Regions from separate parts of the Homo sapiens genome. Here regions 2, 3 and 4 are each linked to region 1. The links are contacts of gene promoters, found by promoter capture Hi-C in blood cells and fetal thymus (Javierre and others, 2016). All regions are on one chromosome and are shown on one strand. Each heading gives the region's core, a stretch centred on a gene start or on the middle of the fragment in contact. The rest is flanking DNA. Distances are from core to core; before and after follow the strand shown. Region 1 holds the start of CLASP2 (cytoplasmic linker associated protein 2). Region 2 overlaps UBP1 (upstream binding protein 1). Region 3 has its middle 4.0 kb from the start of UBP1. Region 4 overlaps UBP1 (upstream binding protein 1).

Evidence for each region. Contacts are between HindIII fragments. The CHiCAGO score rates a contact against its expected background, and 5 or more counts as called.
Region 2: a contact is called between a fragment that was not itself captured here and the fragment with the promoter of CLASP2 in region 1, in 6 of 17 cell types (naive CD8 T cells, total CD8 T cells, activated CD4 T cells and 3 more). The highest score is 6.3, in naive CD8 T cells.
Region 3: a fragment that was not itself captured here is called in contact with the fragment with the promoter of CLASP2 in region 1 in 2 of 17 cell types (non-activated CD4 T cells and naive CD8 T cells); the score reaches 5.4 in non-activated CD4 T cells.
Region 4: a fragment that was not itself captured here is called in contact with the fragment with the promoter of CLASP2 in region 1 in 3 of 17 cell types (non-activated CD4 T cells, naive CD4 T cells and activated CD4 T cells); the score reaches 6.7 in non-activated CD4 T cells.

Annotation. Positions count from the first base shown.
Region 1 is chr3:33,716,891-33,719,645 of GRCh38, reverse strand. It overlaps CLASP2 (cytoplasmic linker associated protein 2), which reads left to right and starts at 1,392. Exons shown (of 39, transcript NM_001365631.1): 1 at 1,392-1,838. The coding sequence starts at 1,644. RefSeq lists an enhancer at 1,031-1,120 and a silencer at 1,321-1,660. The HindIII fragment of the contact is 12,344 bases long and covers 1-2,755 here.
Region 2 is chr3:33,423,729-33,426,428 of GRCh38, reverse strand. It overlaps UBP1 (upstream binding protein 1), which reads left to right. Exons shown (of 16, transcript NM_014517.5): 2 at 688-839. Among named protein-coding and RNA genes, the nearest start is that of UBP1, 15 kb to the left of the region's middle. RefSeq lists an enhancer at 1-334. The HindIII fragment of the contact is 2,559 bases long and covers 171-2,700 here.
Region 3 is chr3:33,443,076-33,445,775 of GRCh38, reverse strand. No RefSeq gene overlaps it. Among named protein-coding and RNA genes, the nearest start is that of UBP1, 4.0 kb to the right of the region's middle. The HindIII fragment of the contact is 4,305 bases long and covers 1-2,700 here.
Region 4 is chr3:33,406,050-33,408,763 of GRCh38, reverse strand. UBP1 (upstream binding protein 1) reads left to right here. Exons shown (of 16, transcript NM_014517.5): 8 at 1-74. It also overlaps a transcript of FBXL2 not described here. Among named protein-coding and RNA genes, the nearest start is that of UBP1, 33 kb to the left of the region's middle. The HindIII fragment of the contact is 1,663 bases long and covers 536-2,198 here.

The DNA of each region.
Region 1 (2,755 bases), core at 143-2,642:
GGAAATTACAACCAATTAAAGATGGAAGAAACTTTACAAACTCAATACAATGTGAAACACAGAAATACTGAAAAAAGAACACAGAAAACAGTCAATTTCTTTGAATTTTGAGTTTGTTTATTCTTAGTTATTGTGAATATTTCAAATATCAATTTTTGTTGAATTCATTCACTCATTTAACTTAAATTGGCCACCCATTATTTGCTAGGCACCACCCTAGGAAAACACAAAGGTTCCTGGAGCTTTCTGTGTATTAGAAGAGAAAGATATTACATAAATAATCATTTTGTTGTGATTGGGAATAATTGTCAAGAAGATAAACACAGTGTGCTTTTGGAATGTATTAGACAACTTTACCCCCACCAGAATGGCTAAAACTAATAACCCTGACCATATCAAATATTGTGGAGCAACTGGAACTCTCAAGCATTGCTGGTGGGGATTTAATATGATCCAGTCACTTTGGTAAACAATTTGGCAGGTTCTTCTAAAGTTAAACATACAACTTACAAGACCTAGTAATGCCAGTCCTTGGTATTTATTTACCCATGAGAGAAGAAAATATATCCACACAAAAACTTGTGCACTAACCGTTGTAGCAGCTTTATTCATAATTATAAAAAATAGGAAACAACCCAAATATCTACCAACAAGTGAATGGATCGACAAATGGTAGTGATTCCACAGAATGGAAAGCAATAAAAAGGAATGGACTTCTGAGACACCAACAGCGCTGGATGGACCCCAAACGTTATGCTAAAAGAAACCAGACTCCAAAGAAGCACAGACTGTATGAAGTTCAGGAACAGGGAAAACTATGTTACCATGCTAGAAATCAAATTAGAATTGCCTAGGGAAGAGCAGATAATTGGGAAGTGTCCTGGGACTTCCTGGGGTGTTGGAAACGTGCTGTACCCTCACTGGGGTGGCGGTTCCACGGGTGAATACATTTGCCGAAACTCATGAAGTGTACGCTGAAAATCTGTGCGTTTTACTTTAGGCAAACCTAAGTTTTGTTTTGTTTTGTTTTTTTAAGTATTACACAGTGACTGTGGTGGTGGCTGGAAGCAGAAGTCAGGAGTGTATTCTTTTTTTTTTTTTTTTTTAAACCGGCAGTGGGGGCGGGAAAGGGGGATGCCAAGTACTTTCCTAAGTGTTGAATACAAGTGGAGGCAAACTTGGAAACGTTCCACATTTCACAGGGCGAGGGCAGGGTGCCCTGACAGCGGCTAGCAAAGAACGGCCCGCCTCCCAGGGGGCTCGGCCCAACTCGGACCCCAAGTCTCCCTAGAGGTCCTATCGCTCCCAGCGGTTTCCGCAGCCACCTCCACCACCTCCGCAGCAAAACGCTAGCCGGACTGGAGGGCCCTCGCCGGCGTCGTGCTGACGTCACGCGCGTGCTGACGTCGCCCGCGGCCGCGGCCTCTGAAGCGGGCTGGGGATCGGGGGGCGCCGAGTTTGACTAGTTTGGGGGCGGCTGGGCGCTTGGCGTTCCTCCCGCCGCCCGCTGCGCCCCGCAAGCCGCGCCCCTGGCGGGCTAAGTGAGTCCCGCCCGCTCCCGCGGGGACCCGCACTGGAGGCTGGGCGGCTCTCGGCGAAAGTTGGCCGCTCACAGACTGGCAGGCGGGCGGGCGGCCGCAGCCATGGAGCCCCGCAGCATGGAGTACTTCTGCGCCCAGGTGCAGCAGAAGGACGTCGGCGGCCGGCTGCAGGTCGGCCAGGAGCTCCTGCTCTACCTTGGCGCCCCCGGCGCCATCTCGGACCTGGAGGAGGACCTGGGCCGCCTAGGCAAGACAGTCGACGCGCTCACCGGCTGGGTGGGTTCGAGCAACTACCGGGTAAGCGACGGCGGCGAGGCTGGGCTGGTCACGCCCTCCGCGGCAGCCCTTTAATCCCGGACGCGAGCGCCGGGCCGGGAAAGCTCCCGTCCGAACCACTGCTTAAGAGGGGAAACACACTTTGGGAAGCACAGGCGGGCGGATCACGAGGTCAGGAGTTCGAGACCAGCCTGACCAACATGGTGCAACCCCGTCTCTACTAAAAATACAAAAATTAGCCGGGCGTGGTGGCGGGCGCCTGTAATCCCAGCTACCCAGGAGGCTGAGGCAGGAGAATCGCTTGAATCTAGCAGGCAGAGGTTGCAGTGAGCCGAGATCGAGCCACTGCACTCCAGCCTGGGCGACAGAGTGAGACTCTGTCTCAAAAAAAGTAAAAAATAAATAAAAATAGGGGAAACAGGGGGGTCCCGCGTCCCCACTGGGCAGACCGCCTCTTCGTACGCGAGCCGAGGACTGACTTGTGACCACATTTTTCTACACTTGTGGACAATGACAAATTCAGCGATTCCGTGACACGTTGCGGAGTTACTAGGACACAATGTTGATCACTTATTTTGAAAAAAAAATCAGTGAAAGACTTCGACATTTGTGTTCACCTGTGTAAACACTACCCAGACCAACAGATAGGACATTAGGATACGATTTTAGGTTGATGTGTCTTAGTAGATAGGCTAATGCTGGGGGGGAAAAAGTTACAAAGATGAGGTGCGAGAAAGAATGAGCCTTTCTGAAGAGTTGGTGGTAGGCAGGGTGTAATGTAGCCGCGTTGGGAGGCCAGGTAAATATTTTGTATTTAACTTGCCCCGTAGTCGTTAGTAGTTACTTTTCTTTCTTGTCTTCTGGTGGCAGTGTTGCTTTAAAATGCTGACTGCAGCTTCCCATGGATGAAGTGATTCTTCTTAGTAACATATTCTCAT
Region 2 (2,700 bases), core at 201-2,700, 290 kb after region 1:
CTGTTAAAACCAAACAACATCCAATAAAAACAGTGTCCCAGAAGACCCCTCATCATTCTCCCAATCAGTGCCCCAGGTTATTCTTAGGGGGAGAATAGCAGCTGCTGCGACTGCTGCTGCTCCTGTTTACCTCTCAGTAGGAGCCATTGTTTTAGATTAGGCATGAAGCTTCATGTTCTTAACACTTGCCAAGGCACAGCAGGGAACTTTTTGTAAAACCCCATTTTAATCAGATGCTTCTTTGTAATTCTATGGTGTCAAGTGTGACCTACCTTTGGCAGCAGTATTATTTCTTGCCTTTCAAATCAAGTAGCTAGGTACTCTTGACTTGCTTTTTTTTTATAGAAAGAATCTGGACCTTAAAGTTTTAAAAGAAGTTTTTAAAGTGCTATATATATATATATATATATATATATATATATATATATATATTCAGAGCTGCCCTGCCGCCCTCCCCCACTTCCCACCCCGAGATAGGGGTTGTTAATGCCATCCTTTAGATGAACCACATAGCATTCATAGTTCTTTTATTCTACATATAATTTCTGATCTTAAAAAAAAAACTATCCCTAAATGTTTATATGCTTTTAAATATTTCAGACAAGATTGGGTGCATTCAGGATGATATGGCTGTAGACAAATATTTCAAACCCAAAGTAAGGTCAGTGTTGATTTTTTGCTTTTCAGTGATGTCTTGGCATTGCCCATTTTCAAGCAGGAAGATTCCAGCCTTCCATTGGATGGTGAAACAGAGCACCCACCCTTTCAGTATGTGATGTGTGCTGCAACGTCACCAGCAGTAAAACTGCATGATGAAACGCTTACTTATTTGAACCAAGGTTAGTGTGGTTATGTCACATTTGACATGTAAGAATTTACAGAAATACAAAATAATATTTTGGCATTGTAGCCTAGATTATTGGTAATAATTAAAAATTAGGTTCTTTTTCTTAAATTTTACAACTTAATGAAAATTGTAGGAATTTTACTGTGAGCAGCTGAAGTACAGTTTGTGTAAACTGATTTGCATTAAAGAGGGTCTGAGGAGGAAGATTTATTACAGGATTTTTAAGACATAATCCAAAGGACTAGCAAGTAGGAAAGGAAGTCAGTTATTTTTAGGGACAGTGATTTCAATATGGAACTTGAGAATGAATCAGAAGTCCAGCTAGCAAGGAACCTGGATTTTGAACATGAAGCAGTTCTGTGCTGAAAATAGACTTAAGCTGCACCAGGATGGAGTCTGTGGCTAAATAAACATCAAATTTTATCCCCTATATCTTGTTTGTAGTTTATGTCAGAGTGTTACATTTCAGTGATATGAAAGGGTTGGTGGGGAAGGAGGGAAAATAGAGATGTGGGGGTAGTTTACCTTTTTTTTTTTGAGACTGAGTTTTGCTCTATCGCCCAGGCTGGAGTGCAGTGGCGCAATCTCGGCACACTGCAACCTCCGCCCCCCAGGTTAAAGCAATTCTCGTGCCTCAGCCTCCCAAGTAGCTGGGATTACAGGCACACACCATCACACCCAGCTAATTTTGTGTAATTTTAGTAGACAGGGTTTCACCATGTTGGCCAGGCTAGTCTCAGACTCCTGACCTTAAGTGATCCGCCTGCCTCGGCATCCCAAAGTGCTGGGATTACAGGCGTGAGCCATTGCACCCGGCCGAGTTTATCTTTGGAAAGAGGAGAGTTTGCCCTTTGCAGTTTGGGCACAGGCTGATGTGACTTACCCCTGTAAACAAAAGTATTTTGAATGCAGGAATTAATTTGTTGGATACATATACTGAAAGCAGGTTGAATTCTGATTTTAAACAATTTTTTGAACATTTTTACTGTTATATGCTCATTGTAGAAAAACTGGGAAATATGTGAAGGGATAATGCCAAAAATTGACTAATATTTTTGGTCTGTTTCTTGAATGTATATACATTTTCTTTCAAAAAATTAGAATTATACATCTGTTCACTTGAGTATATAGTGTTTATTTTTCTGTCATTAAATAGAATTTTTACTCGAAGTTTTGGAAAGAGCAATAGATTTTAGACTTTTACATGTGATTAATCTGAAATGTGGAAGAATAACTTATTTCTACCTTTTCATTTGATATATAAGTTTAGAATCTATAAGGTTTTACCTTCAGGTAGTCCTGTCTCTGGCACTTGTGACAATTCCCTGTTTGTTTTTATATTTAGTGTTTGGATAGGCAATCACTTATTTGAGAGTTAAGTTTTATATTTGAAAGAACCTTAATAACTTATTTGGTAATCTGTTGTAGACATAAAAATAACAGAAGAAACAATGTAGGGGCAAGGATATTCACTGTAACTTTATTTCTAAAGATAAAAAAGGAAATAACCTGAATTTTCCTTACTTGTGGAATAGTCGATTAAGTTCTGTTACATACATACCATGGAATGAATTAGTACACATATACACCCTGTTTAAAGCAACATGTAGGATGTGCATTTATTGGCCTGGGGGAATGCCCATAATTTATCATGGTTGTTCTTAAACCAGATAAAGATATTTCATATCGATAAAAGTCATAATCCACCATCTGTAGTAGTGATATAGTAGACTGACATTAATTGATACTGTGCATCTAGCATTGTACTAAATACATGTGTTAACCTTATTCAGTTCTCACAGTAACTCTAGGAGAGATTTATTCATTTATAGATTAAACTTAGAGCAGTTAAT
Region 3 (2,700 bases), core at 36-2,535, 270 kb after region 1:
TACTAAAATACAAAAAAATTAACCAGGCATGATGGCGGGCACCTATAGTCCCAGCTACTCAGGAGGCTGAGGCAGGGGCATCACTTGAACCCAGGAGGAGGAGGTTGCAGTGAGCCGAGATCGCACCACTGCACTCCAGCCTGGCAACAGAGCAAGACTCTGTCTCAAAAAAAAAAAATTAAACAATTAAAAAACCCCAATATAGATAACTGATGTTAATACCTTTATTACCTCATAATCAGTCAAAAACTTTAGTCCACTCCTCTTAACCAATATCATAAATTTAAAAAAAAACATTGCCAGGAGGCCTTCAGTCTTGTAGATACAGACATCATTTATTGTCTCTTTTTCCATAATTTAGAATAAATGAAGCAATGATTAGAAATTTATCCCTCATGGCCAGGCATGGTGGCTCACACCTGTAATCCAACACTTTGGGAGGCTGAGGCGTGTGGATCACATGGTTAGGAGTTCGAGACCAGCCTGGCCAAAATGGTAAAACCCTGTCTCTACTAAAAACACACACACACACAAAAAAACAAAAAAACCTGGGCATAGAGGTGCACGTCTGTAATCCCAGCTACTCAGGAGGCTGAGGCAGGAGAATCACTTGAACCCAGGAGGTGGAGGTTGCAGTGAGCCGAGATTGTGCCACTGCACTCCCGCCTGGCAACAGAGTGAGACTCTCTCAAAAAAAAAAAAAGGAAAAAAAAAGAAATTTATCCCTCATGGCCGGGCGCGGTGGCTCACACCTGTAATCCCAGCACTTTGGGAGGCCGAGGTGGGTGGATCTCCTGAGGTCAGGAGTTCAAGACCAGCCTGGCCAACATGGTGAAACCCCATCTCTACTGAAAAAAAATATACAAAAAATTAGCTGGGCATGGTGGCGGGTGCCTGTAATCCCAAAAACTCAGGAGGCTGAGGCAGGAGAATCACTTGAACCTGGAAGGCAGAGGTTGCAGTGAGCCAAGATTACACCATTGCACTCCAGCTTGGGCAACAAGAGCAAAACTCCATCTCAAAAAAAAAAAAGGCCGGGCATGATGGCTCACGCCTGTAATCCCAGCACTTTGGGAGGCTGAGGTGGGCGGATCACAAGGTCAGAAGATCGAGACCATCCTGGCTAACATGGTGAAACCCCGTCTCTACTAAAAACAGAAAAAAATTAGCTGGGTGTGCTGGCGGGCACCTGTAGTCCCAGCTACTCGGGAGGTTGAGGCAGGAGAAAGGCATGAACCCGGTAGGTGGAGCTTGCAGTGAGCCGAGATCGCTCCACTGCACTCCAGCCTGGGTGACAGAGCAAGACTCCGTCTCAACAAGTAAAAAAAAAAAAAAGAAAGAAAAAGGAAATTTATCCCTCATAGTAGACTCTATAGCTGACTCTACTGCAAAGGCCATGGCACAACAGACTTTAAGTTCTCTTGCTAAAGTTGTGCTAGATAACGGAATTGCTGTATATTACTTACTGAGATACAGAGAAGTATGTATCTCTGTATGCAGATACTTCTCTGTATCTGCATACAGAGAAGTATGTATCTCTGTATGCAGATACAGAGAAGTATCTGCAGTTGCTCACACTTCTTGTTGCACAGAGATGAACATATCAGGTATTATAGAGATTCAGTTACAGGGGATTAATAAACAAGCTGCTTGGTTAAAACAGCTTGATCTTTTATCTAGCTCTTTCTTTGATCTATTTGATTTTAGTTAGTTTAGTTCATGTTGACCCTGGCTAAGGGGCATACTCCAAAGTCTTGGTATTATCCTCTTGGTAATCTTAATAGTAGTCTCCTATGTGCACTAAGGACTTTCAAAAGTTTTAAATGTTTACATACAATCATCCATAAAATGTCCATAAAATTTAAATAAATAAAAATTCCAACATAATAAAAAAAAAGTATCCTCTACTCTAACGCTTACCAGAAAATAACCTAAAGTCCTTATTCGCACCTTACAAAACCCACTGTTGTACTATTTCCCAATGGGATTTGCGACCAGATAAGTACATTTACAATGGTCAGAAAGTAATGTCAATGTCTAGGATTTTGGTCAACCTCTCTATTTTGGTCAAGTTGAGAGGTTGAACAAAAGGGGAGAAATTGTTAAATTGAGTTTAGCCTAAAGTTGCCTCCTTATAAGTTCAGCCTAAAGGTTTCTCTGTACACAGTAAATTGTAACCTAACTGGATGTATAAATGGTCTATAACCTATTATAACAATCGCTGAGTTTTGGCTAATTACAGGAGGCCAACTGTTCAAATAATACACTCAACCAATCAAGCTGTTTTTATATCTCACTTCTGTTTTCCGTACATCACTGTCCTTTTTCTGTCCATAAATCTTCTTCCACCATGCAACAGTGTTGGAGTCTCTCTGAACATATTCTGGTTCGGGGTGGCTACCTGATTGACAAATCTTTTTTTTGCAAAATTAAACTCTTATATTTAATTTGTCTAAAGTTTTCTTTTAACACTATCCTTCTTTTATATTTTGGTCTCTTTATGACATTACTATTTAGCGCTGCTTGATACTTCTATTTTTTTTCCAGACAGGGTCTCATCTGTCACCCAGGCTAGAGTGGCATTATCATGGCTCACTGCAAGCCTTGACCTCCTGGTCTCAAGTGATCCTCCCACCTCAGCCTCTGGAGTAGCTGGGACCACAGGTGCAGGTCACCATGTCTGGCTAATTAAAAAAATTT
Region 4 (2,714 bases), core at 118-2,617, 310 kb after region 1:
AACATGAGCAGAAAAAGTCCAGCAAGCGGACTTTGCCAGCAGACTACGGTGATTCTCTGGCAAAGCGAGGCAGTGTAAGGGACTTCTGCTTCTCTTTTCATTGTGCAAGAAACCTTGTGCAGTGTTAGATATAGGACCAACTTCCACCGCAAAGTAAAGCCAAAATTGTTTTTGATGTCCATGTCTTGATTTAATTTGCTTTTGTTTAGACTTCCTGCTTCTGTTTGTTCCTCACTGAGGAAAATTTCCTAAATCTAACACTTTAAAACAAAGCAAAAAACAATGTTGACCATATTGGGTGGTTTTGGAGGGAAAAAAAGACACTCAGAGATATGTATTCCCTCCCTGACTCCTTCCCTTCCTCCTTCCCTCCCTCTCTCCTTCACACACACACCTCCTTCAAGAGCACTGAAATTAATTGAAAATACTTTCTTTAGTAAATTAGCTATTATTTTTGTGTAACTGAAAAGGGTCTTGCTTTCTCATGTGTATACTTGATAAAATTTTGTGGACAGTTAGATGATGGCAGCAAGCTTGACATTAACACGTGCAGTTCTTTGTTACATTTTTCTGCATGTAGTATAAAAATGTGTGTCTGTCTATGCTTCTAAGAGCCTGTTTGGCAGCACTGGTAGAAAAAAAAAAACTCTGATGGGATTCATGTTTCTTCTTGGCAGTTGCATTGTGAATTAATGCTTCAGGCCAAAGTAGTGTACCTTGCTACACCTAGACCTGGGCCGCCCCCAATATGCAGTCAGGGGGCATCTGGTTGAATATGTGCTTTGTCCAGTTAAGTATAGCAAATCTTTATTTTATGACATGACTCTTCATCTATTAGTCCACAAACGATGATCCTGCTTTGCAAACTTAGATCAGCTACATACCTTCAGTAAATATAAACACAGAACATTAAAGAATCATTTAAAATAATTGTCATCATATGTATTCGTGACTGCTGTATTCACTGTTGCAGTCTTTGCACTATTAAAGTACCAGAGGATTTTTCATTCTTACACATATCGCAATTGCTGTGGTTAAATGTAGACTTTGAATGTTACTGTCACAAGCACTATCACAAGAAACTCATTTCCAATTATAGTATCGAATAAAAATGTTTTAATGCTTCTCTATGCAATGAAACTGAAATTGTACTCATCCTAGTGCCACTGGAAGCACACGTTACATTTTCTTTAACTGGGCTTTTTTTTTTTTTTTTAAATAAATTCGAATCAAAGATTGTTAAAACAGCTGTATATTCTTTCCTAAAACACCCGCCCCAGCAATTTTGTTTTTATCCTCTTCTGATTTCTCAGCTGAAGACCCACCAATGGTTCTTAGTAAACTTCTTTGGGGGGGATTCTGGCAACTCACTTTTCCTCTCCTGTTATAAACCATTTAACTAATAAAGAAGTAGGTTCTGGTAATTCCTAAATAAAAGAAATTCATTATAGCCCAGAGGTAATCTGAAGATGGGAAAACTGTTGGTAAATTCTTAATGATTCTTAAGTCTAAAGTATGCAAAACGTCAGCAGTTCACTGGCCTGGGATTTCACATCTTCCTCATGTATTGCTTACTGCCCTGGCTGTATTTGATTTTGTTCAGATGCTTTTAGGGGTGGTTAGAGCTCATCTTGAAAACCTGTTTTTAAAAATGCAGGGTACAGATTGTCACTTAAAAAGGAAAGTTTGCAGAATTTCATATGTTTCTTCAAACTCCTACAAAGGAAGGCCAACATTTCATAGAGTTTTTGGCTAGTTACAATTGGCTTTCAGTAAAAAGGGATATCCAGACTTACTGTTAGAGTCGAAAAGATGCCGAATGAAATGGTGCCACACTGAATAGTCACTACTGTTGGTTACCAGGAGATGCCGTACAACAAAACTCTTAGTGTGTCTGTTGGTCTTCATCTCTGAGCTGTATATGATTGGCTCAAATGATGACTGCCAATTTCTACAGCCTAAAATGGGTGATCATTCTTTACCTGGGGAGGGACTGTGTTCACAGTGTACCGAAACCATAACTATGAGCCCAGGCCAGGCATTGCTAGCGCCGTTATGAATTCAGGAGCATAGGCACTGCACCATCGCTTGCTTTTCGAATGTTAGAAGAATCTAAATATCTAAAAGCAAAATGGGTATTTATGGAGTTTTGGTAAACTTGGTGTTTCTACATTACTCTGCCATGCTAACTTGAAGCTTTTTGATGGCTTCATTTCTTCAAATGGCTGGCAATAATTACAAAAAGTTTAGAGAGACTTGATACTTTTAATATTAAATGGTTTACATTATTTATACATGTATGTTATGCTGTGTTATGTTTTATATGTGCAGGGGGATGTTGTAGCAGGAAAATCTTTCAGATAGTAGAGGTGAGGTGACAGTGTGTGATACCCATGATTAGATTTGCTAGTCAGCTCACAGGGTCTTGGGTTCATCAAACAGTGTAAACTGAGGAGGTGATACTTTGTAAGGTGGAAAGAAAAACAAGGGTCTAGTTTTTTAGTTATTTATTTATTTTTTTGAGATGGGCTTTCACTGTATTGCCAAGGCTGACCTCAATCTCCTCAAGCAGTCCTCCTGCCTCAGACTTCTGAGTAGTTGGACCACAGGTGTGTGTGTGCCATCACACCTGGCTTAAAAGGCCCTAATTTTAAAAGAATGGGCATTGTTGTGTAAAATGTAATTTATAGCAAAGTTGCTATGCCATGCAATAA